2 separate regions of the Homo sapiens genome follow, and region 1 is linked to region 2. The links are contacts of gene promoters, found by promoter capture Hi-C in blood cells and fetal thymus (Javierre and others, 2016). All regions are on one chromosome and are shown on one strand. Each heading gives the region's core, a stretch centred on a gene start or on the middle of the fragment in contact. The rest is flanking DNA. Distances are from core to core; before and after follow the strand shown.

What was found. The method cuts DNA at HindIII sites, captures the fragments that hold promoters and counts their contacts. A CHiCAGO score of 5 or more calls a contact.
Region 1: a contact is called between a fragment that was not itself captured here and the fragment with the promoter of RTKN2 in region 2, in 1 of 17 cell types (activated CD4 T cells). The highest score is 5.6, in activated CD4 T cells.

Annotation. Positions count from the first base shown.
Region 1 is chr10:61,740,878-61,746,651 of GRCh38, forward strand. The region is part of intron 5 of CABCOCO1 (ciliary associated calcium binding coiled-coil 1); the gene reads left to right. Among named protein-coding and RNA genes, the nearest start is that of CABCOCO1, 81 kb to the left of the region's middle. The HindIII fragment of the contact is 321 bases long and covers 2,959-3,279 here.
Region 2 is chr10:62,267,021-62,272,353 of GRCh38, forward strand. It overlaps RTKN2 (rhotekin 2), which reads right to left and starts at 1,824. Exons shown (of 12, transcript NM_145307.4): 1 at 1,531-1,824. The coding sequence starts at 1,590. All of the region lies in intron 1 of LINC02621 (long intergenic non-protein coding RNA 2621), which reads left to right. RefSeq lists a silencer at 1,576-1,905. The HindIII fragment of the contact is 2,285 bases long and covers 1-1,909 here.

The DNA.
Region 1 (5,774 bases), core at 1,869-4,368, 520 kb before region 2:
GGCTCATGCCTGTAATCCCAACACTTTGGGAGGCTGAGGTGGGAGGATCATTTGAGGTCAGCAGTTCGAGACCAGCCTGACCAACATGGTGAAACCCCATCTCTACTAAAAATACAAAAATTAGCTGAGTGTGGTGTGCACATGTAATCCCAGCTACTCGGGAGGCTGAGGCAAGAGAATCGCTTGAACCCAGGAGGCAGAGGTTGCAGTGAGCCAAGATCGCACCATTGCACTCCAGCCTGGATGACAAGAGTGAGACTCTATCTCAAAGAAAAAAAATAAAATAATAAAATAAAAATAAATAAATAAATTTTAAAATCCAATAAAAGGAAGAAATACATTTTAAATGGAAGCAATGAATAAGTTTCTGCATTGCTTATTATTAATTGCTAACCCAATTAATAGAAGTGAATCATATGACAACATTAAAAATAGATTTAAGCTTCTTGCATTTTTACAAAAAAATAACTAATATTGATGAAGGTAGCATAAATTGTATAATATGCCTTTCCAAGGAGGGCATCAACACAACTTGGTGAATGAGTGCCACCTATTTAAGGAGTAAAGAGTATTTTAAATTGTTTCCTGCATAAAATAACCTGAAAAGAAGCTTAAATCTTTTAGCTAATGTATGAAGAAAACTTGCTAAATGTTTTCTGAAATTGGACATTAATGCTAAAATCTATATGATGTTACCAATAATAAGTTGTGAGGCTGAAGCTTTCCTAAACTATTAATAATTTAAAAACATATCCGTTAACCAAGCTAGAAAAAAGACTGACTAATTTTTCTATTTTTTCTACGGAAAATAATATTCTAATGTTGTTGTACCTGAAGGGCTGATTAGAATATGAAGCCCAAAAAAGTAGGGTTAAGTGTATTGTTGAGATAGGTTAAGCACTTAATTTTTAAATTTAATTTTTAATTTTGTGCTATTTTTGGAATTTGTCAGCTTTTTAATAAAAGTAATTTGTTGTTCTTTTATTATTCTGTATACCCACATTTGTGAATTCTATGGATTCACTTCTGTACCTAATTTTATGTACTGATTTAGCTTCAGGCTTCACAAAATCTTCTCTGGCTGCTGTTTGTACATGGTTCTTACCAAATGTGGGGAAGCAGGGAGACCAGGTAGAAGGTAATGGCTGTGGTCTGAGTCACATGGAACAGGATAGTGGCGTGGAAGGTAGAGAGAAGTCGATTTCAGTTTTATTTCAGAATATATATGACAGGACTTGCTGAAAAATTGGGTGCAAAGAGTGAGCGAAAGGGAGGAATTAAGAATGCCTTCCAGGATTCAGTTTGAGTAGCTGCAAGACTCGGGGGGAGACAGGGCTGAGTGAAGAAAAAAAGCTTCTTTGCCGGGGACATTAAGCTTGTCATGTTTTCTCCATGCTGCCTATTGTATTGTACTTTATAGTGCCACCCACATTAGACTATAAACTCAAAGAGGGCAAGAACTGACTGCTTTTTACTCTCATGACATAAGATTTCTATTCAATTGAATTTAACATGTGTTGCACGAACTATATGCAAGATGCTCCACCAGAAACTAGATTCAAATCCTTTGACTCAAACTCAAACTACAAAGAAAAAAAAAGGCAAGTGGATAAGAGCCCAGATTTGGAATGAGATAGACCAGACTTAGCACCTTAGTTCTGTCACCTGCTAATTGTGGGGCCTTGGAACAGTAACATCACCTCTCAGAGCTTCTTGTTCCTCGTCTAAAAATGAGAATGATTATCCCTGTCTTATAGGATTATCACAAAGTAAAAATAAAACAATGTGTGCAAAATGCTTATTACAGTGCCCAGCATACATTAGCACTCAATAAATGGTAGGATGTACTTGCATTTGGTTTTCCTGCCAATACAGACAATATCTATAGCACAGACATCACAAAATCAGTGTACTAGAAAATGTTGAGAGAGAAGTTATTTTTTTCAGCATAAGAACATATCTTAAATAATTTCAGGAGAAGATAATAGGTTTCTGTACTCTTCTAGTCCTGAAAAGGAGGGGGACTAAAAGGCACTGTGAGCAAAAATAGAATGAATTTACCCAATTCTTTACTGCACTATTTAACCTCTGCTTTCTTAATCATATGCACAGCAGGGGAAAGGATGTGCTAAAACAATTCATGTGTCATGAACAAAGCAGCCGCAGATTTTAGCTCAAAAATCACACTAGGAAAACCACCAGTTGCAAGTAAAGTAATAAGGCCAAATTTATTTTTTTCATTGAGTCTTGAGTTACAAGCAACCCTTTAATTACATTAATCAAGCAGGCTTCCTCTCAACAAATGAAGGGAAATATATTGTCCTAACTTTTGCTAAACTTGTTTTTTAAGTTGCTGGATATTACTTGGACATATGGAAAATAAATCCCTTGATTTCTTTTTTATATTTTTCTCCATCTTTCAATGTAGCCATAGCAAAAGACAAACATATACTTACTTCTAGACATGACTTACTCTGTGAAAGATTGTAAATCACATTTTAAATTTAAAACATTTACATTTCAATATTTAAAACATTAGCACTCGACTAAATTTCACTTTAATTTCCCTTTCCATTTTTCTAATTTTTTGCATTTTTATATATGTTTCTAAGAAAATTGACTCTACCAATTGGTTTACTATCAATCAGCCGGTCATTTGTCCCATTTAATGGATGGAAAACCCAAGGCTTGTAGGAGATTAGATGATTTTCCCAGAGGTCTTGTAGTTACAAAATACCAAAGCTGGGGCTGAACCCAGGCCTGTTTGACCCTAGCTTTTCACCAGTGTCACACACATCTTTTGTTCTAGAATGTTCTCCGTATGTATCTGTTCATTTGTATATGCCACTTCCTCTGTCTGTCTGTCTATCTGGTATTTTCCCTCCCTATCCAACCCCATCTGCATGCTAACTCCTATTTCTCCTTTGAGATTCAACTCAAGCACCATCTCTCTTTTTAAGCTTTCTCTGAATCCCTTCTTCTCTTCCCTCCCACCAAAAATCAATTGGCAATCCTTCTTCTATATTTCTAGAACACTCTACATATACTTCTAATAATTGTTTCATTCTTCAAATTATGTTATTCCTACCAAGTGCCCCCACCACCCACACAATAGACTGAGACCTCCTCAAAAGTCAGAGCCTTTGTGTTGTTTGTCTCTGAATCTCCATGACCTAGTACCGTACTTGGCTTGGAGTGCATGTTCAGTGAAGGTGAAAATGATAATATAAATGAGAGTTTATAAAATATAAAGTTCCTTGTTTTCTGAAAAAATATGAAAGCTTTAAGTAATTGCTAAGAGTTTAACTTAACTTTTGACGATACACAGGATTTATAGAAGAGGGCAGGAGGAATGTTAAAATCTAAAACAAGTGATTGGAAATAAATCCTGAATTGAATTGAAATTTCCAAAGTATAACATTATTACAGGAAATGTAAATAACCTTAATTTATATTTCTATCATTGCAGTCATATTTTGAGAATGCAGTGAAATTGTTCATATTTTATAGTGAGGGCTCTAAACGTGTACATTAAACATTTTGTGTTTCCTGGCTTTTAAAAATGATTACTACCCTGTAATTTACACTTTGTTTAAGCAAATGAACAAACATAGCATCATTTTAATCAGGGTCATCAAGCAGCTCAGCAGCAACCCATTTGACCTAATATATCATTAAACTTGTTTGAGCCAGGTGGTAGTTCTCAAATAACCACATACAATCTCAGTTTGTGATGAAATAAAACTAGTCTTCCAGTACATGGCACACCTATGTTGGCTGGCATATCAGCCCTCCTCACACTAGGAGGTGCTAGAGAGTCAGACCTATTGTCCTCAAAAGGAGAGAACATCAGCCCTGGTACTTATTGCCCTACTGTATCATAAATCAGCTTAGGCGCTACCTAAGAAAAATGGCAAACACCATAGAGGTCTAAGTAAGAGAATTAAGTTAAATAACACCAGCAATTCAATAAAATTAAAATAAAATATGGCAAACACTTTGCAAGCAAGGTGAAATGTATGAGTTCGTTTCCAAATGTGCGCTATATTCTGCAGCCCTATATTTCCATTTGCTACTTTTTCCTTGAATTAATGTCTAGTCTTTTGAAAGGATAGCAGCATTTCAGTGCTATTCCTCTGTGTATACAGTCAGTAATGTTTGTCAAGAGCTTTGGAAGGAAAGGACTACATAAATGTCAGTAGTTATTAATACTGGGATTTTTATATCTAGCTATCAAATGTGTTTTTCATAGTCTATGACCAGAGGTCTATTTGTATCCATCTAACTATAAATGTTTTAAGTAAAAATAACCACTGACCAACAACAGTATTTCTTCTGTTCTTCTTTATAATCAAAGTAATATTTATCAGAAGTTAGCAATTACGCTCAAATTCTTCCAGAGCCAAGTTTATTTTGACATGTTTTTATATTCCAGGTCACTTAATACCACTTATTCCTCTGGCTTTGGGTAACTATTATGAGGCTAGTTGACAAGGTTGACAAGGTCCACTTACAAACCCCACTATGGCCTCCCTGTCCTTGCTCTTCTCTTTGTCTGGCCTATCCCTAACAGGTACATTGTTTTGTTGTCAGCTAAAATCAGGGACTCACCCAACAGTTCTCTACCCCTATGGCCCAACTGTAGCCGTTTTTATGTAGTGTTACAAATGAATTGTGCAGGCATTTGTATCCCTGCCTTCTTACTCCACCTTCAGACTGTAACTCTTTTGAGGCAGAAATCCTGCCTATGCCATGTTTTGCACATGGAACGCACACAGATCAGTTGAATTGAACCAAAATCTGAATCTTACGCAAAACACAAGAGACTCTTCTTTTAAACGTGTGATGTGCTGCAGCATAAAGCTTACTGGCAGAGGGTCACAGCATATCCAGCAAGATGGCTTTTCACTTTTTTCTCAAATGTATTTCAACTCCATTTTCTTTGAAAGACCCACAGTGTTCTTTAAAAAGGAGGAGATGTAACAGTTGGGTTGACCTACAACTGGTTCTCTGAGACTAGAGTTCAAATCTTAGTTTGAATTAAAAACCAAGATGGATTTGAAGGACTCTTACCACAAAGCCTATCTGCTAATGCATTTTTTTAAGGATCACACCAATTACCATGTTTGTCATGTACTCATAAGAACCAGAATAGGTCAACATATATTGGCTGAGTTACACAAAGGAGTCTACAAAATATAGGCCTATGCTCTTTCTGGCTCTGGCCAGCAACCTTAGCCCTTCACTTTTATATGCACTAAATTTTACTCTAGTTTTAATAATAATCACAATAAATATATTAATAAAATCATGTTTATATAAGAGGTTCATCTTGTTTAAAATGCACTGAGAATCATGGTGCTTTATAGGACACAATTTATGCTCTCCTTGGTAATTTAAAGGTGATAACTTCATGTGATTCATTGCCACCTAGTTCTGAACTTTAATAATATAATGACTCATTATGATTTTTACATTTCTTAGAGAACCAGCTTGGTAAAAAACTTCGCAGTTGTTTTTACTGGGGTCATCTGAACTATGGTTCCCAGAATGTTTATGAAAAAAACATGCTTATATATTCTGAATGGCTGTAATCTATCATGGCTGGTGCTTGGTCTGCAGATTATGAGTGTACAGTGTCAACCCAGTGAATTAAAGCTTTGTTGTATATCAGCTTGCTACACAATTATTTCCAGTTCATATCATATAAATCATCACTCTTCACACGACAATCAGTAATTTCCATCTTGTGTTCTAAGCATCCATGTTTTGTC
Region 2 (5,333 bases), core at 574-3,073:
ACGTGGCAGCTTCATTCATGTATCAAAGGAAATACCAAATAAAAATTCAGTGTTAGTCAAGTATAAAATTATCTGACTCTCAATATTCCTGTTAGGTTGCAACCTACTACTATTTTGTGTTTTTTCTTCAAATCCAAACTGAGGAAGTAATTCCACATTTCAATCATTTTGATTTTGTCCTGCCTAAGAAATTAAGTATTGTATCTTCCCACATGTAAATAACCCAGGCTTTATGTATATTTAAACATTTATTTTCATTCCATGCAACTAAACTTCATGATTTTATCCTCTTGTCGCTTCTGTACCATTCCTATTCTTGCAGCCTGCAGCTCAATAAATACACCTGGACAGCTACACCTACACCTATATGATAGGTGCAAGAACATCAATAGAATGGCAATTCACTATAAATCAAGATTTTGTTAGCAATCAGGACAGCCAAAGTACATAACAGGACAGGACTGAAAAAAAGTACATCAAAATCTTTGAAATTTTTGAAAATGCTGGCATAAAACAGCATAAGTATTACTGATAAAGACACTGGACTTCTTTTGCATAATGAATCTTAATGTCTTGCTTTATTTTTCACAGTATTATTGAAAACTAATAATTTTGTGTCTGCTAAGGAAATCCCAGATTTTTAAACAAAGATATCAGGTGCCTCCATATGAATGAAATTGCAAATATTCTACCAATTTTGACCTACAAAACTGGCAATTTCATATGGCTTAACCTATTTCTGAAGTAGGTAAAAGAAGGTAGAGATTAAAATAGAAGTGAAGGTCCAGCTTAAAGACATCAGAGTTTTCTTTTAAGACCCTAAAGTTATGGTTAAGAGTGAAAAGTGGTAACATTTTAATAACTGATGCTGCCAAGAAATAATGTTGGTTTAGTAAAAAGTAAAATAAAAAGGTTTCTAACGCATTTTACATGGCTCAAAAGCAAACATCAAACTTCTATCCAATGTCACGTGTACTCCCTCTTTCCTTTCAAATGATTTGAGAAAGAACCCAGTATCAAACCTTCAACTTTTTCTAAAGTGCAGAGGTTGCTGTTTGCCTCTACTCCGCTCCGAACCCCCTCCCCCCAACCAGTTCTGTGTTGTGTGTAGACATCGCTCCATTACTGTGCTTCCCATTAAATCCGTAATAAGCCAGCTGTCCACTGGCCTCGCTGGGTTTCTTGGGAATCGAGGGGCTCCCATTTCCCCGGCATCACCTACACCTGCAAAAAGACAGGCGTCCAAAGCCTGGGGAGGGCAGCGGACAGGTGCGCCCGCAAACGCGCGCCTGGACCCCGGCACCGCCTTCCCAATCCGGACCTCAGCTGCCTGAGAAACTCGGGGGTTCCGATGTCCAGGCCCTTTAGAGCCCCAAGAGCGCAGTCTCCTAATCCCTCCCTTTGTTTCTGGCCACCGCTGAAATAGAGGAGCGGGGGAGAGGCTTTCCCGACTCCTCCACAAAGCAAATGCGCGAGGAACAGAACCCCGGCTCCCTCACCTTCCGCGGCAGGGTCCCTCCCGCAACTCACCTGCTGGGTGGGAAGCCCCGCCAGGCGGAGCGCAGGACCCCTCAGGCTCGGCCCCTCCATCTCCAACGCGAACTGTCCGGGCCGTCGCCACTCCTTCAAAGGGAAGATTTGAAAAGCCCGCCCCTGGCAGGAGCCGCAGAGGACGCCAACCGCCCGGCCGTACCAAGTCCCAGTCGCAGGGGCCGGGGGCGCAGGAGGAGCCGGGCCGAAGCGCACGCGCAGTGGGCGCGCCTTGCGCTCTGCAGCTCCCGCCGCCGGAAGTTGCCGAGACCCCAGGCTCTAGCGCGGCGGGGCGGGGGAGAGGGCGGCGGTGCCGGACTTAAGTCCCGGACAGGGATGTGGGCGGGCCTGGGACGGGAGTGGGAGGGGCCGCGGGGAAAGCTTCGGCGGCGGAGCGCACCTGTCCCAGCTCAGGTTTCTGGCTGGTGGTTTTCGTGGCACGCCCTTTGCACTGGGAGCTTTCTGCCCGCATCCCACCGAAGGCCTTCCAAAGTGATCGTAGCTGGACAGACTCGAGGCTGCAGTCCCTGTACTCCCAGACAACTCAGGAACCCACAGCGTCACTAAGAGCCCACGGTCTCGTTCCTAAAGAACCAATAACATTACTCTCAAACACAGCGCTCTCTGTTTCCTCTCACCTTTCCCAGCGTTGTCACCAGGGTCACCCAGATATCATGGTTTTATTCATCAGGTTCGTGAGATACTATGTCAGGCATTTCACAAGGTCTTGTCTTTGCCCCCAGTGTTTATAATCCCAGATGTTCCCCGCCAACTACTCTGTCCACTTACTTTGTTTTCTTGCGAAGGATTTCTTTCAGCTCTCTCGCCCTCTCTTTCCCTCTCCAACATCTAAGGTGATAGCAAAATGGGGTACTATTTCTCAAGAGCCTCATTTCTTGCTGCCCTAAAGATTAGCACAAAGACCCATTTTAATTCATGGATTTTGTTAATTATAAAGGGAAACATGGGATTTTTAAAAATCAAAATGAAAGCAGCAAAGATATCACACCCTTGAAAAGTCCTTAAAATTCATTGTCCCTAGTTTATCTTTATTTCCCCCTTGAAAAGGCAAGAGGAAGCCTCTTCTTGAAGAGTCTACCAAATCAACCCTCCAGCCCTCATCGCCTAGAAACCCTTGGGCATTTTTCCTCCATAAATAGGTGCCCATGTTTTTTCATTTGCCTGGGACAGACCCTGTCTGGGTCTGTTGTCCCAATGTTGCACCAATCTTGCACTTATCCCGTAGTGGATATTATGTGGTCATTTTAACTGCAAGACCCTTTTAAAAGCAGTTGGTTTGAGAATGTACTTTAAAAATATAATGGATACCCTTCCTCAAATAGGTAAAATGCCTCTTTAAGACCTTTTGGACTAGGTGATACTAGAAGCTTCCCAGTTGGGAATGATGGTCCCCTTGCATTATGAATGACCCATATCCTTACAACAATAAAATATGTGTTCAAAATTATCAACACGGAGCTCACCTCGTTTTCTACAAACACAGGTCTGAATTTCAGAATCATTATGTGCCCTTTCCTCCAATGCACATCTCTGTCTTATGCTACCACTTTGTGGTATAATTATCTCCTACTCAGTATGAGGCTGCATGAGCCTAGCTGTAGTACCTGACTCAAAAGAAAAACACACCGCGAGCCCATCATCAGACACATAGTACTTACAACACATACAGCTCTCAGTTGCAGATCAAAATACATGTAGAAGCCAGCACTTCATTAAAACAGAGGTGAGTCAACCAGTTTAGAATTGGACACTGATAGAGGAGTATTTGATGAGTTAAAACCAGATATTTAACTGGAGATACATTTATTTATGATACTAGAAGAAAGAGATTAGGCAAGATCATATTTAGTAATTATCTGTAGAATACAGTTGTTACAAGAGACCTTTCTCTTGGGAGAAGAAGTTATGATGTGGTCCTGTTTTTATTATACACCGGGAGAGGTCCCCAGGAATTGCTTAAGTACTTAATTATTATATGATGATTAAAATACCTTGGAGTAGGACTTATGTTTCCTTATTTATCCTCAAGTCCTTACTTGTTACTGCTAATTTCATCAGCCAGTTTTCTCTGGTGTATGTAATGCACATAAAATATACTCATCCATGGAAACTACAAAATTTAAAGAGTTCATATGCAGTGGCTTCATTAGCTTGAGGATTTCTCTATCAATCTATTTATTTTACAGTTCCCAGAAAGTGAGAAGTACTACGTTTTACCATCTCAAATATCTGAGAGAGAACATTTGGGCATCTCTTAACCCATCATCCCTGGGCTCTTACAGAAGGTCGATATCCACCGAACTGCCCAGATGTAGTAGCTTCAGCTAGAGGATGAGTGATGGAATTACTGTCCTACCAATATTACTTCTCACTATAAGGTCAATATTTAATACTAATTAAAAATATACGTATATTAGTTATCCCTAATATAGCAGATAGTATTATAATAAATTAAAAACTACAGAAGCCAATCTAGATAATACCAATAGATGCCAAAGTATATTTTTCTTCTCTTATTTTCTGTATTCTTGTTTTAAACTAAGAGGCTAAAGGAAAACACTGAACTTAAAATCAGCTCTCTGTTACACAACAGATCCATTATTTTGAAAAATGTGGTTTGACACAGAACAGATAACTTGTGATTTTGAATATCCTCCTAGCCTCTCTTATAAAAAAAAAGTCCTCTTAAAAATTCTCTTGGTGCTTTCTTTTACTCATCTGTTCATCTTGTAGATAATCTGTTTAGGTTGAACTGAATAAATTAAAGTTATATTTTGAATTATATATGGAAGAAACAGAGAGAAAGAAGGAACTGAGGTCAAGGTGCTAAGCAGAAGTGCAGCATTTTCTTAAATGAATGTCTATGAATAGCTGAAGCATCACATAATCAGAAGGAGGCTATGGAATGTGGAGTCTGAGGATTTATTAGCCCGATTACCTTGGGCAAGCCACTCAGTTTTCTTATCTATAAAACAAGTATATAATACCCATCTTGTTTTTTAAAGTTGTTGGGAGACTCAGATAAGATTTTTGAGAGTGCTTTGTAAACTGTCCCACAAAAACAGGAGTTGTTACTACTGTAGGAAGAAAACATGAGTACCGAAAGGCAACTGTAAAGTACCTATAGAACTATGAGAACTGAATGAGAAAAATGTATGTGAATTGGATATATTCAAGATATATCACCTACCACTGCTAAATAATATGCTATATATAAAGAACTCCTATAAATCAATAAAAATTCAACTGGAAAATGGTCAAAAGGTATGGTAGGCATATTATAGGAGAGTAAATCCAAGTGACAAATAAAATAGGAAAGGTTGCTTAACCTTATTATTAGTCTGTGAACTGCAGATTAAGATCCCAAAGAGATATTTTACAGTCACTAGATTGAGAAATATTAAGAAATCTGATAATACTAGGGGTTGGCAAAGATGCAGGTCCAAGAGATATTATATGCTGGTGGAGGAGATAGAAATATGTCCAATCACTTTGGAAAAAACAAATTTAGAACAGTCTTGTAAAGTTGAAAATGTGTTTACCTAGCAATTCTGCTCCTTGGTATGTATCCTGTGGGAAATTCTTGCAAATTTGTATAGGCAACATTGCTTATCATAGCAAAAGTATTTTTAAAATCCAAATGCTCATTTCAGGAGCATGGATTAATAAATTGTGGTGATTTACCCAGTAGAATGTCACGTATCTTTTAAAAAATAAGCCATAATTATGTTTAGTAACATACACATAACTAAATCTTAGAAATACTGAATGAAGAGAACTAG